Linked DNA regions of Homo sapiens: region 1 is linked to region 2. The links are contacts of gene promoters, found by promoter capture Hi-C in blood cells and fetal thymus (Javierre and others, 2016). All regions are on one chromosome and are shown on one strand. Each heading gives the region's core, a stretch centred on a gene start or on the middle of the fragment in contact. The rest is flanking DNA. Distances are from core to core; before and after follow the strand shown. Region 1 has its middle 9.2 kb from the start of LINC00028. Region 2 holds the start of DEFB115 (defensin beta 115).

The links. Contacts are between HindIII fragments. The CHiCAGO score rates a contact against its expected background, and 5 or more counts as called.
Region 1: a fragment that was not itself captured here is called in contact with the fragment with the promoter of DEFB115 in region 2 in 1 of 17 cell types (erythroblasts); the score reaches 5.2 in erythroblasts.

What each region holds. Positions count from the first base shown.
Region 1 is chr20:31,493,217-31,496,667 of GRCh38, reverse strand. No RefSeq gene overlaps it. Among named protein-coding and RNA genes, the nearest start is that of LINC00028, 9.2 kb to the right of the region's middle. The HindIII fragment of the contact is 2,603 bases long and covers 655-3,257 here.
Region 2 is chr20:31,255,600-31,258,943 of GRCh38, reverse strand. DEFB115 (defensin beta 115) reads right to left here and starts at 1,280. Exons shown (of 2, transcript NM_001037730.1): 1 at 1,187-1,280. The coding sequence starts at 1,280. The HindIII fragment of the contact is 8,626 bases long and covers 1-3,344 here.

The sequences.
Region 1 (3,451 bases), core at 707-3,206, 240 kb before region 2:
TTCTTGATCTGTCGAATAAGCCAGCTACCCTGGGAAGCAGGCTTAGTTAGAAGCCAGACATTTCTGATTTAATCCTTAGCTCTGATCTTTACTAACTGTGTGACTTTGGACAAGCTACTTAACATCTTAGAGTCTTAGTTATCTTTTATCTGTAGAATAGTGTTATCTCTTACTGTTGTGAGGATTAATGAAATAACCTGGGAAAAGGGCTTAACTCAGTGCTCTTCACGTGTCAAATGCCCAATGAATGGCTATTAAAAAATTTAATTGTTATTAATGACTGCTAGGTGCTAGGTGCTGTGAGAGGTGCTTTACACACCCAGTTTCTAATCTAAATAACACCTATGCAAAGTGCTTGTCATCCTCCTTTGTAAAACTGACTGTCCAAAGGTTCAGAGAGGCCAAGTTACTTGCCCAAGGTCACAGAGCTGGCAAATGGCTGAGCCAGAGGGATTCAAATTCAGACCTGACTGATGCCAGATTTCCTGTTCTGGAATCAGGACTCTAGGCTGATACCAAGAGTATCAGTAACTGGATACCGAGGCTCTGGTAACTGGAATAAAGCACCCTCCTCTACCCCAGGCAGAGAATAAAGAATGAAATAGTCTAGGCTCAGAATTTAATGCAGCCCTTAAAAGCTGTAATTTCAAAGCTTCACTGTGGTTTTGGGCAGCTAAAGGGCACAGTCATTGAGCAGAATACAGCTCAACTTTGTTATAATTAGGGAAAAGCAAAATAGGCAATGAGACACCTTCCTTCCTACTTTCTCTCATCTTGTCCCCAATAAAAGGTCAAATGAGAAGAGACTGGTAATATCTAATGTGGGTCACAAAGTAGGGAATTTGGCACAATTCATCTGAATATAAACAAAACAGCCCCTTTGGAGGGCAATTTGGCAGGGTGTGTCAAAAGGTAAAACGTATGTGCCCTTTGACTAGTAAATTTGAATTTGGTAATCTCTTCTATACATGTAAAAATATTGAATGTCACACTGTTGTGAAGGGCAAAACATTTGCACTAACCTAAATGCCCCTCAATGGGTAAAATATGTTATGGTACATCCATACTGTAGAAAAGTAGTACAGCCATGAAAAAGAAAAAGGTAAAGGAAAAACTGACAGACTGGAAGGAGAAACAGTCACATACAACACTCCTTTCTCAGTAATTGATAAAACAAGTAGGCATAGAATCACTAAGCATAGAGAAGACTTGAACAGCATTATCAACCTCTTTGACCTAACTGGCATTTAGAACATTATGCCCAACAATGGCAGAATACATAGTATTTTCAGGTGCACATGAAACATGCATCGAGATGGGCCATATGTTGAATTATTAAGTCTCAAATTTGCAGTGGAAATAAACAAACAAATGGAAAACCCCCAAATATTTTGAAATTAACATACTTTGGAATAACCTATGGGAATCAGAACAAATCACAGGGGAGATTAGAAAATATTTTGAACTGAATGATAATGAAAAGCACAACATACCAAAATTTGTGGGATGCATCTAGAACAGTGTTGGAAGGCAATTTATAGCTTTCAATGCTAAATTGGAAAAGAAGAAAGGCCTCAAATAAATGATTGAGGTTTCTATCTGAAGAAGATAGAAAAATAAGAACAATATAACCCCCCAAATAACAAGGGAAATGTATAAGAATAAAGCATGGATAGAAAGCCAGTACACATTGAGTGAAAAAAGCATATTAACCGATACGTACGGCATTGTAGCAGAGATTACTGGTTGACCCTTGATTGCTGGTTATCTCTCAATGTCTTTCCTTTTTTTTTTTTTTCTGACTTGTCCCCCAATATCTATTTCCTCCTTCCATAAACACAGAATCCCTGATTTTGAGCTGGTATGTGACTATTTAGAATACAATACATTTCCTGGCTGGGAGCAGTGGCTCACACCTATAATCCCAGCACTTTGGGAGGCTGAGGCGGGTGGATCATTGAGGCCACGAGTGTGAGACTAGCCTGACCAACATGGTGAAACCCCATCTCTACTAAAAATACAAAAATTAGTCGGGCGTGGTGGTGTCTGCCTGTAGTCCCAGCTACTCGGGAGGCTGAGGCAGGAGAATCACTTGAACCTGGGAGGCAGAGGTGGCAGTGAGCAGAGATGGTGCCACTGCACTCCAGCCTGGGTGACAGAGTGAAACTCCATCTCAAAAAAACAAAACCAGCCAACCAACCAACCAAACAAATACAAAAACAAAAAACATCACAAAATCATTTCCTAAATTTCCATGCAATTAAGTGAGGCCATGTGACTATGCTGTGGCCAACGTGATGTAATCAGAGGTGTGTGTCTTCTGAAAGGCTGTGCCTTTTTTGACTCCTTACCGCTTCCTGCTGGCTGGAATGTGAATATGATGGCTGCTGCTTGAGCAGCATATTGTACTGAAGATGAGGGAACCAGAAGATAGAAGCAAGCACAGTTCCTGCCTTGTGGAATGCCATGCCACCCTTGGACAGCCTGCTTGTGGACTTCATTTATATAAGAGAGAAGTGCCCTTCTATCTGTTTCTATCACGGCTATTTTGGATTTGCAGTGGAATTCGGTCTTAATGCATATGGCTATAATCCCACTTACGTGAAAAAAGGAAACAAACCCATACATGCATATCAGATGGATGATTTAGACTTTGGCACAGAAATCCCCGTAATTTTCTTTTTTTTTGAGCCAGAGTCTCACTCTATTGCCCAGGTTGGAGTGCAGTGGTGTGATCTTGGCTCACTGCAACCTCTGCCTCCTGGGTTCAAGCAATTCTCCCGTCTCAGCCTCCCAAGTAGCTGGGACTACAGGTGCGCACCACCACGCCTGGCTAATTTTTGTATTTTTAGTTGAGACGGGGTTTCGCCATGTTGGTCAGGCTGGTCTCAAACTCCTGACCTCAGGTGATCCACCCACCTCGGCCTCCCAAAATGCTGGGATTACAGGCGTGAGCCACTGTGCCTGGCCCAGAAATCCTTCAAGAAAATTTGCATAACAGTAAGTCTAGAAATGGGGAAGCGCCAAGGTTGGTGTTCAGAGGCTTGACTTCATCAGCAAGGGTTCAGGTACTCCCCATCTTTCTGCCTTGTCATCCTCTGACTAGATCCCATCATAATTGCAAGATGGTGTCTACAGTTCCAGGTATTACATTCCTACACTCCAGGGACCTGTCAAAAAGGGACTGGTCTCTTCCTGCTGCAGCTCTTTTATTTATTTATTTATTTATTAAGCTCTTTTCTAAGAGCAAAGAAGCTTTTCCTAGAAACCTCCAGTTAACTTTTCATCACACTTCATTGGCCATAGCTGGACTGTAGGTCCCCCTTTAATCTCTGGCGTAAAGCAATCAGGATTTATTCTTGATTCCATAGATAAGAGGAGAACAACAGAGCAAAATTGCAATTCTGATAGGGTGGAAGAAAGAAAAGTGGCCAATTATTTTCTACAATGT
Region 2 (3,344 bases), core at 31-2,530:
GTGCAGGGAGGGTTTAACACTGTGCCCTTCTCTGATTTATTTTCTGTGACTCTAAGTCAACGCAGACTGCAAACCCAGTTTTCTCAGCACATTGGATTCATTTGAGGGATCATTATATCTTAATCTAAACTACAGATTCTTTCCACTTGTCTTTTCCCCAAACTCTTCTTCTGGGAGATAATTCCTAATTCTCTGTCTTTTACCAGAATGTTCAGGCTGAAAAAAATCAGTCACATTGACTCTCACTTTTCTCTTCCAGTATTTCATAAGTCAATATGTAGATTCTTTCTCCAAAATGTCTCTTGCATCTGCAACTCCCTCTATTCTACTTGCCCTCGCTGGAACATAAGGCATGCTCAAGCCAACTCAGGGTTAGCCCAGAATAACCTTCTTTTGCTTCTAGAACAACTGAGTGATTGGCAAAGGCTTTCAGCTTGAATAGCTGCTCCAAGAGAGGATGTGACTTCCAACAGCAACGACCCAAAGGAAATCACAGAATTAAAAATCATCAACTTTAGAGCCCCTGGGAAGCCTAAGGGGAAAACATTTCCATTAGAAAGTTATTCACCACCTGGCCATGATGCCTGTTTATACTGTTAGAGAGCTTTGAGCGTGTTCAACTTGAAAGCCAAAATCTTCTGCTGTAACCCCAGCTCCATACTGTGAGCCTGTTTTTATAAACCTGTAGATATCAAACATCAACTTACAACTTTTTCACCATATATTCCAAGACAAGAGCAAGTTGCCTCTTCTGCCTGCTTTAAAGGAGCACTCAAAGCCCAACAACAGTGGAGAAGTGAAGTAATGAGACTGATTATTAGAAGAGGTAGTATCAACTGAAAGTGGGGTTGAAGTGAGAGACTCACAGGATGAGACTGTTGACATATGGGCCAGAGGCATTCAGGATACTAGAGATGTTGGGGTTGCTTCTGCATATGGAAGGGACTTCATATAAAACACCTTGGCCTCTGCAGATATTCTCCAGGTTCCCTAATGAGAACCACCACCATGGTCAGGCCTGACAGGCTGCCCTTCTTATGGGAGCATATTCATTATAAGCCTTTCATCAGATCTCAGCCATCCCTGTGGGCTCTCCTTGCTTCTACACATGTTCAATTTTCCAGTGATTCTGTGGTTAGGACCCCATCCTTACTCCCTTTTCCCTTCTCTCCATGGTTCTGTTTACCTGGGGCAGTCTGAGCCAGGACCACAAGGACAACTAAGGCCAGGACAGAGAGTTTAATGTCTCCTGAGAGGGGTGAGAAATGATCTGGCAGCATTCTGAGTGTGCTGGGGAAGCTGGGTGTGCACTCAGCATTTTATTGACCTAGGCAAGGCTGACTCACAGACAAAAAATTAGAGAAGGGCAGAATGTTACACCACCCAGAACATCAGCCTGCCACTCAGCAGTATAAACTGATTATCCGGTGTTCAGGGTCCTGCTCTAGATATCCTTGGGGATGGTGAAAGGCACGAGCAGAGGAGGTACAAGTCCTCTCCAAGGCTGTTGCACTGGCCAGAGAACAGATCCCTTCTCCAAGAAGCCTTTCCTGTCCCTCTCCTTCAGAATTTATCCCCCTCCCCTACATTCTCACAGCTGCTGTTTTCTTTTTCTCTGTGTGTTTATCATGACACACTGGAACTAAGTGTTTTTCTAGTTCCTCCTCCCATTCAGAATGATACCCTAAGGGAAACTTTTAATAGACAGTGAGACCCCTGAGGTTAGGAACAGGCTGTCATTTTGGTACACCCAGAGCATACAGTGAACATGTGTTGAAAAGCACTGAGTGAGTGAACGCACATGTGGCATATAATTGTATCCCAGTAGCTCTTAGAATTGGCATTTCCCAGCTAAGAAAATGCAGGCTGAGAGTGGAAAAGAATTGTCTAGGGTCCTACCATGAGCAAGAAAGAAACGGACTGGGGTGGAAGCCCTCATAACCCAACTCGTTGTCCAGCTCTTAACTCTGAATTTGTATCCTATTTTCCTGCTCCAAATCCTTCATATCAACCATTTCTGGGTCTTTCTTGGACTCCAGCCTCAAACAACAAAGCAAAAAATATTTCATGCTGTTTTTCCAACAAAAAGAAGAGGGCACTGCCCAGGCTCCATTAGGAGGGCTGCCTGTGGGCCCACTGGATCTTCCTTTTTGGGTTCCTTGTCCTTTTCCGCCTTTGGGTGAGTCCAGTGTGCATCGGTTTTACTCTCCTCTTTCTACATGCAGGCAGCGGACCTGATGGGGTTCAGGAAATTTGTTTTGCTTTTAGGATTTGGACAGAACTTTCTTCAGGAAAGCAATGAACATCAATGTCATCCACTGAACTTTCACTGTCAGGCAGCAACTATGCTAAGCACTTTATATATATGACCCCCTGGAATCCTCACAGGAGCCCTGTTAGGCAGGTGTGATGTGCTCAGGGTTACACAGTGACTATGAGTGAGGTCTGGATTCAGATCTGGGTTACCTGTCCCCAGATAACATGTTCTTTCTGTCATCCCAGAGGATTATGCCTGAGCAATGATGGAAGGAGAGGTCTGTTTAACTTGAAAAGCAGTAAACAGCTGGAGAGAGTCATAATTGCTGTCTTCAAGTATCTGAAAGGCATGTTCTCTGTAGGCCCACAGGGCAGAACTAATAGGCCTGAGTGGAAACTGCAAGGGCACAAGTTTTGAAACTCATCAGAAAGACCTCTGAAGATGGGAACCATCTGGAAAATGGTTAGACTGCCTGGAGGAGCTAGCTGGTGGCTCCTGCTGTTTTAAAGCTGCAAACTGAGACGACATGACCACTCCCCTCAGATTCTGCAGGGAGGATGGCTGAATTGGCTGCATGTGGGTCTGTGCACTGGCACAATTCTAGGCACTGAGCTTAAGAGAAGAAAGCAAAGTCCGGCCATTCTAATTAGGGAGAGGGACAACATATAGTGTCAGTTGGTGATAAGTGCTATAAAGAAAAATAGGGAAAGGAGAATAGAGAATAATATACTTGTGTGTGTGTGTATGATAATATGTGTGTGCGGGTGTGCGTGTGAAAGGCACACAGGATTGAGTGTAGAGTAAGAGGAATAGAGAATATTGATATACATCTGTGGGTGTGTGTGTGTGTGTAAGGCACATAGGATTGAGTGCAGTATAAGGGGAATAGAGAATAATATGATATACGTGTATGTGTGGGTGTGTGTGTGTAAGGCACATAGGATTGAGTGCAGTATAAGGGGAATAGAGAATAATATGATATACGTGTATGTGTGAGTGTGTGTGTGACACACAGGTTTGAGTGCAGAGTAAGGGGAACAGAATAATATACATGTGTATGTGTGAGTGTGAGTGTGTGTGTGTGTTA